2 separate regions of the Homo sapiens genome follow, and region 2 is linked to region 1. Evidence: promoter capture Hi-C in human tissues and cell types (Jung and others, 2019). All regions are on one chromosome and are shown on one strand. The core of a region is centred on a gene start or on the middle of the fragment in contact, and the rest is flanking DNA. Distances in the headings are between cores, read along the strand shown. Region 1 holds the start of PNLIPRP1 (pancreatic lipase related protein 1). Region 2 has its middle 7.8 kb from the start of PNLIP.

What was found. Contacts are between HindIII fragments. The study calls those that stand out against the background at their distance.
Region 2: a contact is called between a fragment that was not itself captured here and the fragment with the promoter of PNLIPRP1 in region 1, in 2 of the 25 tissues and cell types used here (H1 embryonic stem cells and mesendoderm cells).

Annotation. Positions count from the first base shown.
Region 1 is chr10:116,587,716-116,594,197 of GRCh38, reverse strand. PNLIPRP1 (pancreatic lipase related protein 1) reads right to left here and starts at 3,239. Exons shown (of 13, transcript NM_006229.4): 1 at 3,203-3,239; 2 at 3,020-3,068; 3 at 2,273-2,427; 4 at 1,657-1,782. The coding sequence starts at 3,068. RefSeq lists a silencer at 5,531-5,735. The HindIII fragment of the contact is 3,195 bases long and covers 2,418-5,612 here.
Region 2 is chr10:116,534,736-116,541,586 of GRCh38, reverse strand. It overlaps the pseudogene RNU6-1090P. Among named protein-coding and RNA genes, the nearest start is that of PNLIP, 7.8 kb to the left of the region's middle. The HindIII fragment of the contact is 9,042 bases long and covers 177-6,851 here.

The sequences.
Region 1 (6,482 bases), core at 1,990-4,489:
AATTCTGGAAGGAAAATGTCTTCCTGGATGTCAAAGGAGCTGATATATCTTTAGGAGTTCTGCCAGGCAGTACATATTACCAGCTTGAATTTAAAATGGTACTATAAATTTAAAATGCACTTGGAATCATTCCACATATAGTATACTAATATGTGTGATCACATGCACAGAGATAGTGGGAGTTTTCTCCTCAGGACTTTTCTTTTCTTTTCTTTTTTTCTTTCTTTTTTTTTTTTTTTTTTTGAGACAGCCTCATTCTGTCGCCCAGGCTGGAGTGCAGTGGCGCGATCTCAGCTCACTGCAACCTCTGCCTCCGAATTTAAGCAATTCTCCTGCCTCAGCCTCCTGAGTAGCTAGGACTACAGGCGCCTGCGACCACACCTGGCTAATTTTTGTACTTTTAGTAGAGACAGGGTTTCACCATGTTGGCTACGCTGGTCTTGAACTCCTGACCTCGGGTGATCCACCCGCCTCGGCCTCTCAAAGTGCTGGGATTACAGGCATGAGCCACTGCGCACCTGGCCAGGACTTTCATTTTCAAGCAATCCTGAGGAAACTTTCACAAGCCTGGAGAATTTGGAGTATAAACTGTATCAATAAGATGCTTATTAATGATAGGACAGGAAAGGTGCCAAGAGTGAAATGCCTGTTAAACCAAGGGCAAGTGCAGAATGACTTTAATTTTCTGGGTTTGTAATTTTTCCTTTTGACATTACTGGTTGGTGTTATTAATGTATGTGTGGAAGGCAGGCTCCTGGGGTAGGTAAATTCTTAGGTGACAGAAAAATCGATTGAACTAGTCTCCACATAAATAGAAAGGATGATGGTATATTGTGGTATATTGCACGCACATGTGTGTGTGTTTGTGTGTGTATGCACAAGTTGCACACATGTCCATGTATGTATGTGTGTGTGTGCACATGTGTGTATTCTTCTGTTGCTCTCCTTCTGACCTATATTACATGTAGGTGACACTTTCTATTCTGTCATTGTAGTAACTTAATCTTAGTTTTCTTTTTTTTTTTTTTTTGAGATGGAGTCTCACTCTGTTGCCCAGGCTGGAGTGTAGTGGCACAATATTGGCTCATTGCAACCTTTGCCTCCTGGGTTCAAGCAATTTTCCTGCCTCAGCCTCCCAAGTAGCTGGGACTACAAGAGCCTGCCACCACAACAGGCTGATTTTTGTATCATTAGTAGAGATAGGGTTTCACCATGTTCGCCAGGCTGGTCTCGAACTCCTGACCTCAGGTGATCCATCCACCTTGGCCTCCCAAAGTGCTGGGATCAATTAAGTGGTCACAGCAACACATGTCAGCCTCTCAGGGATGTGGGAAAAATTTGAACAAAGAAACCCCTATAGTCCCTCGCTTATAGGATACAAAGTACCCTCACTACAAATGGAAGCAGAAAACATCAGGCCTTGGTTTAACCAGAAATTAGGTAGTAGGAGTACTTTTCTAACAGCAAATGTGGTTGCTTCAGTGTGCAGATGTAGTGCGGAAACATGGAAAGGCATTTTAATTTTTGTGAAGAGAAGCATTTTAATTGCATAAAGTTACCTAATATGTAAAGATTTCTTGAGTGCATAAAGTGATGCAGAGATGTTAGCAGAAGTGTTGGCCTCAGCTGGCCACAGGGATCAGAGCTGGCTCCTACCTTGCACATGTCTGTCACCCAGCTCTCATCTCCTTTGTCTATGAAGCCATGGATGATGAACCGGGTCTTTCTGTCCATTTGAAAATTTGATGCCTCAATTGTTGATGGATCAGAGAGGAGGAGAATCTGTGACAGACGCAGAAGTGCTTCATGTTTTCGCAGCCCAGCCTCACAGGCCTTTTTCCTTCCTCATCTCCGCCTGCGCCAATGCCTCTACTTTTCAAAGCTTAGCAAAAAGCCACTTCTTCCATGAAGCCCACCCTGATCTCCCTTTTCTTGCCCCATCTCTCCAGGTGAGTAATCACTGCTTCCACTAGGCCTGGATTGTGGTTTGAGGTTTTACCTTCCCTGTGGTTTTTGTTAGACAGTAAGCTGTTTGCCCCAGACCAGAATCACACAGTAGCTAGAGGTTCTGGCAAATGTGAACCATTCATTCATTCAAGCCAACATTACTAAAGACCTGCTCTGTCTAGGTCTAGCTAGGTCTGGGGGGCAGCTTGAGGGATGGGGTGGGGCATGGTGGAGGAAGAGGGCACAGAGATAAGGTATTCATGGTCTGCAGGGTGGGCATAGCCCCGTGCCAGTTACAGTGACATTTAAATGACAGAGGTCTCACTTGAAAGTTGTTTGGGTTTTCATTGGTGTACAGCAGGAAGCGGGTGCCGATCTTCTCAGGGCTCCAGGGGAGAATTTTCAGGGGCCTGATTGCTGTCCCGCCCCAGGGCTCAGTGTCAGAAAAGCACCCGAGGTCCTCATAGCAAACTTCTTTTCCTACAGAGAAAGGTTGAATCTGCTCAAGGATTTGCTCTCAAGGTGTGCTCTGGGGTGTCACTGCTGTTCGGGCCTGGTCACTCTTCTATTCAGGGACAGTCTGAAGACAATGGATGAACCTACTGCAACCCCTCCCACTCTCTTCTTGACCCCAGTGCCCACCTACTACTGGCCGGTAGTAGTATCAGTCCCATTGAATCCCACAGGGACACCACTGGAGCCTTTGTTTAGAACTACCCTCAAAACTGGAAAGTTCTAAGTCCCATTCCTAGCTCTTCTGATACATTTATTTGACCAATGTGATCATGGGCATTGATAAGTCAATATGTTAACTCAGGCAGATGTTTCATGCTTTACCTAGAAATGTCTGGCCTTGGGCACCCCGAGCATGAAGGTAGGCCACTGGGGGGATCCCCAGAAACAGGTCTCCCTTAAACTGCCCAGCCTACTCTCCCAGGCAGAGTGTCAGCCCACATCTTCTCTCTGGTACCCTGGAGCTGCTGGGAGCCCTGCCACAGTTAAAGCTTTCTCTGGCCAGGGCTGAGAGCTTAAGTTTAAGCCCTTCCTACGGGGCAGGAGTGGTGTTTCTTACCTTTGGCTGCTCCCAGCAGGAAAAGTGTGATTGTCCAGAAGATCAGCATCTACAATAAATTTAAACATAATTCAGTCTCACCGGGCATTGCCAGAGCAGTGAGCACCGACGCCCTGGACTTCAGTACTGTTTACCTCACCTGTACGTCACAGCAGGGGGAAAGGAGTTGCAAAGGTGGCTTACCCTGTCTAATGTTCCAGATGTTCCCTCCCACCGGATCGAGTGTCCAGCCCTTTCTAAAAATATATATTCCAGCCTTATCATTTGGACACTACTTCAAGAAAACAGCAGGTGATTATAGCCCATGCTGTGCGCACTTAATACTTTAATCTGCCCAAATACACAAAACAAGATTAATAATAGCTGTCAAGTCTTCCCACAAGTCTGGAAATATGACAGAATGCTTGGTTAAAGCAGGGAGTGAAGTCACCAACCTTGTACCTATGTAACTATGCATGTACTTGTGAGCTGAATGGGCCCTCACTTTTCAGTTTTCTATTTCATCACCAAATAGTTTACAAGTCTCAATAGGGACACAGCAGCAAACCCTAATGATAGAGGATAGTATTTCTCATTTAGAATAGATGAAAATACCTGCAATTAGTTGAAAGTAAAGAGAAATCTCTGATTAAGAAAACTTCTTCTCTCTCTCTCTCTCTCTCTCTCTCTCTCAATCTTCCTCTCTCTCTTTCGAAGACTAGGAATACTGGGCATCTGAGCTTTGGAGAAAAATTCAACAGCCCTCACAGTAGCTTCTGACCACAATCCTCCCATTAACTGCCTATTCCAGTTATATATTGCTATGCAATGAACCAATCCAAAAGACAACACTTTAAAACAATAGCAATGATTGCATTATGCCACTGTAATCTCAATAGTTGGGTTCAGGAGCCCCCAGAGGCCCATGTCATGTCTGTTGAGTTTCCCCAGGTCCTCTGAAGGTTGCACACCTGCAGATAATTCTTGGACCCTGTAAAGCCATCATGATATAACCAGAGACCTCTGCATCTGTGAACAGCCCAGCCAGTTCACACAGCAAGGCAGATAAGCCTTCACAAAGCAAACACCATGAGTGCCTCCCCTTGCCAAGTTAAATATGCCTCGGTGTCAAAGTTCTCAATCTTAAATAACCAAAACACAAGGGTGCAGGCCTAAGGGCCTTCCTCTTAAGAAAATGGAAAGGACTCCTGGAATCATAAAGAATAGCTGCCAACTGTTACGAAGCCTTACCAAGTACAGTCAGAATTCCAAGCACCTTACGTGTATTACCTAATAAGTTTTAAAACAATCCCATAAGCCTCTCTTTATAAATGTGGGAACTGAGGCACAGAGAGATAAGTAAATTGCCTAAAAAGTCACACGACTAACGAGTGATGAGGTAAGATTTGAATTCAGGCTGTACAGAGTTGTTGAATATTCAGTTGTGTTGAGCTAGTAATCAGCAAGCTTCACTGGATGTCAACCATGTAGAACAAGAGGGATACACAGAATGAGTCAAAAGAGAAAATGTGAAAACCCTCTTGGCCCTTGACCTGTTTCCTCCCTACTTCCAGGCATCCCCAGGATGGAGAAACAGGCTAGACTTGGTGATGGACTGGGAAGGTGGTCAGAGTTCTTCATCCCTTCCTCCTGTACACACACCCTTTGCAATGTGATCTTGCAGCTCCTTCCATCAAGAAGTGGAGTTTATTTCTCCACCTCTTGAATCTGAGCTAGACATGGTATGACTTGATTTGGTCATTAAGTGTGGTAACAGCAACATCTTTGAACAACTCAAAGCCAGCTGTCCCCCAAGTATGTAAAGGACCCAGCCAAGATTAGTGGCACTGCCTACTCAACCCACTGTAACCACAGAGGCATGAGTAAATCCAGCCAAGACCAGAAGAACCACCCAGCAAACTCAGATTTTTGAGCATGGATAAATGCTTTAATTCAGTGCTTTAAGCCACTGAATTGGTGATTGTTTGTTATGCAGCAGTAGCTAACCAATACAGGAACCCAAGCCAGGCCTGGAATTCAGAGACAGCAGCACCTGTTGCACTCACTGTTACTATTCTTTAGCACACAGCACCAGGTTCGAGCATACCCTTTCCTAAGACAATGAGGAAACTCCGTGCATCAGTCAATATACACTGTGCTCCAATGCACTGGCTCCTGTTTAAATGCTCTAGGGGATTTAATTAGACTAAGCCTCTAGCAAGGCTGAGGTTCAAGCTGCTTCTCCTTCACAGGCTGTCAGACAATTTATTCATTCCACACCAGATGGAAAGATTTCTGGGTGAGTCTTTCAAACAACAATAACAACTGGAATTTCTTTTTTTCTTTTCTTTTCTTTTTTTTTTTTTTTTTTTTTTTGAGATGGAGTCTTGCTCTGTCACCCAGGCTGGAGTGCAGTGGCGCGATCTCGGCTCACTGCAAGCTCCACCTCCTGGGTTTATGCCATTCTCCTGTCTCAGCCTCCCAGGTAGCTGGGACTACAGGTGCCCGCCACCACGCCCAGCTATTTTTTTGTATTTTTAGTAGAGACGGGGTTTCACCGTGTTAGCCAGGATGGTCTCGATCTCCTGACCTAGTGATCCGCCCGCCTCGGCCTCCTAAAGTGCTGGGATTACAGGCGTGAGCCACTGCGTCTGGCCAACAACTGGAATATTTTGATTGAACTTACATCCAGTTTCAGGGTCACAAGTAAGGATTCATAGGCATACAAATCTGTGGATCTCTTTTTGAAACCATGACTTCATTTCCACCAGACAGCTCTCAGGTCTTCAAGACGTATGACTCATTGAAGGTCACAAAAGTAAAGAATGAAGTCACCAGCCATTATCTGTTATACATACATGTGTAGATGAAGCCCAAATATCTGCTTTCCTTCAGGCAATCAGCTCTGTCCTTGTTTGCTCCTTCAATTTTAATTCTGGGGGAATGATAGAGTTGGGTTCAAGGTGGGTTTTCGGAGTCCCTTAATTTTAGAGAAATGTTTGTTTTGAGAAAGCTGGTTTTTAAATCTCTTCCAGAGCCTAGAATCAGACTGTATTACATTGAACTATGTTTCTAAATATCCCATGAACTGGCAGACTCTCCCTCTGTGTGTTGTAATGGAAGTAGGGTACAAGAACTTGCCTCATCATTAGTCAGCTATTGATTTCTTTTTCTTTTATTAGAGATACCTGTCTGTGGGAAGTGAACTCAGCTTCTGAGTTTCACCTAGAGTTCTCAAAGTCCTTGATGACCGCTGGTAGATCTCACCGAGGCCAGACAAACCCTGGTGCCAGTTGGAGTGCATTAGGTCCAAAAGTCTGCGCTCCTCTGTAGGGGTCCTTGGCATTTCCAGAACAACTCCCAGCCTTCAGAATCTGGGTGCTGTGAAGTTCTGCAAACTTGAATGACGATTAGATAGGGAAATAATCAGAACTTGCTCTCCATACAAGTATCAAAACGGTTGATTTACACCCAAAACTTGGCT
Region 2 (6,851 bases), core at 3,448-5,947, 54 kb after region 1:
TACCAGGGGGCATTAGTATGTATATACAGGTGTGTAAGACTGGGTATTTGCTTTCCAAAACAAATTCATGCAAATACGCTTTGTATAGCCTATTTTTTTGTTTTATTTATAGTCTGCTTTCCAATACTAATGTAGTAAATGGTAATTTTATCAAACAGAAATACAACTTTTGTGATACTGAATATGACAAATCATGTCTTTCCTGAGCCATCACAGTAGTCTAACTGCCTTCCTTGCCCTCAGACTGTTCCTTTTCTGTCTGTTCTCTATACACTGTTAGAAAGTCAGTTCTAAAATGCAGACTGGTCATTGTACTGTCTTTCTTAAAACCTCACTTCCCTTCCCCTCTCTTGTGCTTTCTAGATTAGCACTGCCCAATAGGAATATAAGCAAGCCACATTTAAAATGCAAAAAGAAACCAGTGAAAATAATGTTAACGATTTTTATAATTCAATACATACAAAATATTATCATATCAATATTAACATGTGGTACTAGTCACATGTCAACTGATCAATGGTCATATGTGGCTAGTGGCTGCTGTAATGTATTGCACAATTCTAGATTAACTTTACTCTCTTTACATCACAAATACAGCTTTACAGATCTGCTTAGCTTCTCTGTGGTTTCCGGTCAACCCTGTTGTATACCCACTTAGCCCATCTTCCACCCCTTATGAGCTTCTTTCAAAATATGCACTCTCAATGGGTTTGGAATGGGAGACAACTGAAAGTACTAAAGAATGGAATAACAAACTTTTCCAGGTGCCAATGAACAAGAAGAGAGAGTAAATAGGAAGAGTTGCAAAATTCAACAGACCCAAAGATCACAGCATGACTATTGAGAGGTGTAATGAAAGTGAAAAAAGAGAAAGCACAAAAGAGAAAAGTCAAAAAGAAAAAAAAATCGACTAACAATAATTTGTACCAAATATATATATTTGTTCCATACCTAAGATGTTTGAGGCACCAAACAATTATGAATTATACAAGGAGGCTCACAAAGGGGCAGGCTAAGCCAGAGGTTGTTATTCATGCGCATTCCACAACTACCCTTGTAAGGCATGAAGCAAAGTCTCTTTCAAAAATTATAAGCTGAGGGATTTACACTTCTAGCCATGATGGGGCAACTGGCTTCAGACTTGCTCTTTTACCATAAATAATTAAAAGTCTGGAAAATATATATGAAGTTTCCCAAGATTGGACAATAAGCAATGCAAGACTAAAATAAGTGAAAAAGGAAAACAAATGAGGTGAGATCACCAATTACTTCAGCTATATGTCTGGAGACATTTCCAGGACCCTAGCAGAGAGAGGGAGAATCTGAGAAGAGAAAGGTAGACTCAACAGGCTGAGGAGATGAAGATCAGATTTCAGTGAGGCCAAAGTATTTGGAATGAGCAGAGCAGAGTACTGAAGAGGAGAAGCTACAAATATGAAAAGCTCCAGAAACTGGCACAGGAGTCCACTTGAGTCCTTGAATAATACTAACATGCTTACAAAGCATAAGATTCCATGAGACTGGTCAGATAACAACCATATGAGAAAGAACAATTTGCTGGTGGACTTTGTAATCCAAACAACTCCTGGAGCTCACACATGATGGAAGACATTCGGTCCAACAGAGTAAGAGATTTTATTGTATAATCAGAGCATTTAGTAGACACCCCCAAAAGGCCATGCTTTAGGAGGACTAAAATATCCCTAGAATAAAGGTTAATCTCAATCTGCCATAAGAAAGCATAAAAACAAATCTTCAAGCATCAATCTGATCTGCAAAAATGTAAAATTATTGGTATTCAGTATCCATTATCAAATTATTTGGCATACAAAGAAGCAGAAAAATATGACTCACTAGTCAATAGAAGGAGACCTAGAATTGATAGGGATTATAATATTAACAGATGAGTACTTTAAAACAGCTATTATAAATAAGATTAAGAGCTAAAGGAAAACATAGGCATAATGAGAAGACAAATAGTAACTATTAGGCAAGATTAGCATATTAAGAAATACAGAAGAGAATATCAGAAAACTGAGACATGGCAATAGAAAAACCATTCACACTGCCAAGTTCAGAGAGGGGAAAAAAGGGCTGAAAAATCTGCAGAGTCTTCATGATCTTTGGGGTAATAATAAGCAGTTTCACATGCATCTAATTGCAGTCCTGGGTCAAGTGTTAAATAAAATTGGAGAAATCATGGCTGAAAATATCCAATATTGATTTGTAAAAATGAATCTATGTATCCAAGAAGTTGAACAATATCAAGTAGGATAAATCCAATGAAAACCAAAAAAAAACACAAAAAATGGTAAAACTGTGAAACCCAATAATAGAGAAAAAAAAAACTTAAAAGCAGACAGGGGGAGAAAGATACAGGGAAAACAAAGAAGGAATGACTGCAGACTTTTCAATGGAAACAGCAAGCCAAAGACAATGGAATGGCTTACAGTAGTTCCCCTTTATTCATGGGGAGTATATTCTAAGACCCCAGTGGATTCCTAGAACTGTGAATAATACTGAACCTATATATACTATGTTTTTTCTATACATACATAACTATAACAAAGTTTAATTTATAAATTAGGCACAGTAAGAGAGTAACAACAATAACTAATAATAAAATAGAACAGTGTACGGCCATAAAATTGATGTACATGTGGTCTCTCTCACTTTCTTTCCATCCCTCTCTCTCTGTCTGTCTTAATAACTTATTATACTCTACTCACCCTTCTTGTGATGATATGAGATGATATAATGCCTATGTGTGGTGATAAAGTGAGGTGACTGACATAGGTATCACTATTCTTGTGATTGAGGGCCATTATTAAGTAAAATGAGGCTTAACTGAACAACAGCACTGGATACCACAACAGCTGATCTGATAACCAAGACAACTGATTACCAAGTGACTAATGCCTAGGTAGCATGTCCAGCCTGGAAATGCTGGACAAAGGGATGATTCATGTCCCAGGCAGGAGGGAGTAGGGCACTGTGAAATTTGATCATGCTACACAGAACAGCATGCAATTTAAAATGCATGAATTGTTTATTTCTGGAATTTTCCAGTTAACATTTTTGGACTATGGTTGACCATATGTAACTGAACCTGCAAAAAGAGAAACATGGATAAGAAGGGACTACTGTATTTAGTGTGCTGAAAGTCACAGACCTAAATGTAAAAGCCAAAACCAAAATCTTCTAGTAGAAAATAGAGGAGAAAAATATTTGCTACCTTAGAATAAGCAAAGATTTCTTAGACAAAACATAAAAATCACTCTATAAAAAAACAGATAAACTGGACTTTATGAAAATTTAAAACCTACTCTTCATCCTTGTGCAGGGTCATGCTAATCTTCTCTGTATCATTCCAATTTTAGTATATGTGCTGTCTAAACAAGAACTAAAACCCTATTCTTCAAAAGATATTGTTAAGAAAATTTTCATTGCCTTTTCAGGCAAGACACAGACTTGGAAAAAGTGTCTACAATACACTCCTAACAAAGAACTTGTATCCAGAATATAAAAATAATTCTTACAAACATGATAGTAAAACAAACAACCTACAAAGATAGAAAAATATTTAATCAGGCCGGGTGCAGTGGCTCACTCCTGTAATCCCAGCACTTTGGGAGGTCCAGGTGGGCAGATCACACGGTCAGGAGATTGAGACCATCTTGGCCAACATGGTGAAACCACATCTCTACTAAAAATGCAAAAATTAGCTGGGCATGGCGGCACGTGCCTGTAATCCCAGCTACTTGGGAGGCTGTGGCAGTACAATTGCTTGAACCTGGGAGGTGAAGGTTGCAGTGAGTCAAGATCATGCCACTGCACTCCAGCCTGGTGACAGAGCTAGACTCCATCTAAAAAAAAGAAAGAAAAAGAAAGAGAAAGAAAGAAAGAGAGAGAGAGAGAGAAAGAAAGAAAGAAGAAAAATATTTAATCAATAACTTCACAAAAAAGATGCATAGGTGGCTAACAAGCATGCAAAAATACGCTCAACACCTTTAGTCATTGGAAAAATGCACAACAGAATCACAAGGAAATATTACAGCCCAGTAAGATGGCAAATATCTGACAATTCCAAAGGTGTAGAACAATTGGAAATTTCATAAAGTGCATAAAGTGCTAGTGGGAGTATCAAATTGACAAACAGTTTGGAAAAGTTTGACAGTTTCCTATAAAGGTAAACGACACTTACATAAAAAACAGCAATTCCACAACTAGGTATAAGCATATATCCACAAAAAGACTTTTCCATGAACAGTCATAGCAGCTTTATTCATAATAGCCCAAGATGAAAGTAACCCAAGTGTTCATTAACTAAACTATGACAACATTAAATACAGCAGTCTGTTTTTATTAATGGTTTCTCTTTCTGCAGTTTCAGTTACCTGTGGCCAAACACAGTTTGAAAATATTAATTGGAAAATTCTAGAAATAAAATAAACACTTCATATGCTTTAGATTGCATGCTCTTCTGCGTAGCATTATCAAATTTTGCACTGTCCTACTCCCTCCTGGCTGGGACATGAATCATCGCTTTGTTCAGCATTTCCAGGCTGGACATGCTACCTATGTGTTAGTCACTTGGTAATCAGTTGTCTGGGTCATCAGATCAACTGTTGGGGTATCCAGTGGTTTTGTTCAGGGAAGCTTTGTATTACTTAACAATGGTCCTAAGTCACAAGAGTAGTGTCATAGTTGTTTGTGTCCATGTGAAAACCACATAATCATCCTGATAGATGCAGAAAATATTTTGATAAAATTAAACATCCATTCATGTTAAAAACCCTCAATAAAATAAGTATTGAAGAAACATATCTCAAAATAATAAGAGCTATCTTTGACAAACCCATGGTCAACATCATACTGAATGGACAAAAGCTGGAACATTTCCCTTGAAAAGTGGAACAAGACAAGGATGCTCATTCTCACCACTCCTATTCAACATAGTTCTGGAAGTCCTAACCAGAGCAATTAGGCAAGAGAAAGAAATAAAAGGTATTCAAATAATGAGAGGAAGTCAAACTATGCTTGTTTGCAGAGGATATTATTCAATACCTGGCAAACCCCATGGTGTCTGCCCAAAGGCTCCTTGATCTGATAAACAACTTCAGCAAAGTTTCAGGATACAAAATCAATGTACAAAAATCAGTAGCATTCCTAACACCAATCACATTCAAGCTGAGAGCCAAATCAAGAGTGCATTCCCATTCACAATAGCTGCAAAAAGAATAAAATACCTAGGAATATAGCTAACCAAAGACGTGAAAGACCTCTCCAACGAGAATTAGGAAGAATCAATATTGTTAAAATGGCCATATTACTCAAAGCAATTTACAGATTCAATGCTACTCCTATCAACATTATTCATGTAATTAGAAAATTCATATGGAATCAAAAAAGAATCTGAATAACCAAGTAAGTCCTAAGCAAAAAGAACAAAGCTGGAGGCATAACATTACTTGACTTCAAAATATACTACAAGGCTACAGTAACCAAAACAGCACGGTACTGGTATGAAAACAGACACATAGATCAATGGAATGGAATAGAGAACCCAGAAATAATGCTACACGCCTACAACCATCTGATCTTAGACAAAATTGACAAAAACAAGCAGTGGGGAAAGGATTCCCTATTCAATAAATGATACTGGGATAACTGGCTAGCCATATGCAAAAGATTGAAACTTGATCCCTTCCTTATACCGTATACCAAAATTAACTCGAGATGGATTAAAGACTTAAATGTAAAACTACAAAAACCCTGGAAGACAGCTGAGAAAATGTCATTATGGACATAGGACATGGCAAAGACTTCATGATCAAGATGCCAAAAGTAATTGCAATGGAAACAAAAATTTATAAATGGGACCTAATTAAGCTAAGAGCTTCTGCACAGCAAAAGAAACTATCAACAGAATAAACAGTCACCCTACAGAATGGAAGAAAATATTTGCAAACTATGCATCCCACAAAGGTCTAATATCCAGAATCTATAAGGAACTTAAACAAATTTACAAGCAAAAACCAAACAACACTATAAAAAGTGGGCAAAGATTATGAACTGACACTTTTCAAAAGAAGACATTCATGTGGCCAACAAGCATAGGAAAAAATGCTCAACATCACTAATCATTAGAGAAATGCAAATCAAAACCACAATGAGATACCATCTCACAACAGCCGTAATGGCTATTATCAAAAAGTCAAAAATATCAGACAGATATTGGCGAGATTGTGGAGAAAAGGAAATGCTTACACACTGCTGGTGAAATGTAAATTATTCCAGCCATTGTGGAAAGAAGTTTGGTAATTTCTCAAAGAACTTAAAACAGAATTACCATTCGACCCAACAATCCCATTCTTGGGTATATACCCGAATGAATATAAATCATTCCACCATAGAGACACATGCATATATATGTTCATCGCAGCACTATTCACAATAGCAAAGACATGGAATCAACGTAAATGCCCATCAATGGTAGACTGGATTAAAAAAAATGGTACATATACACAATGTAATACTATGCAGCCATAAAAAAGAATGAGATCATGTCCTTTGCAGCAACATGGATGCAGCTGGAGGCCATTATCCTAAGCAAACTCACAAAGAAACAGAAAACCAAATACTACTTATAAGTGGGAGCTAAATTTTGAGTACATATGGACACACAGAAGGGAACAACAGACACTGGTGCCTATTTGAGGGTGGAGGGTAGAAGGAGGGTGAGGATGGAAAAACTGTATCTGTTAACTATGCTTACTTCCTGGGTGACGAAATAATCTGCACACCAAACCCTTGCAACCCAGTTTACCTGTATATTAATAACAAACCTG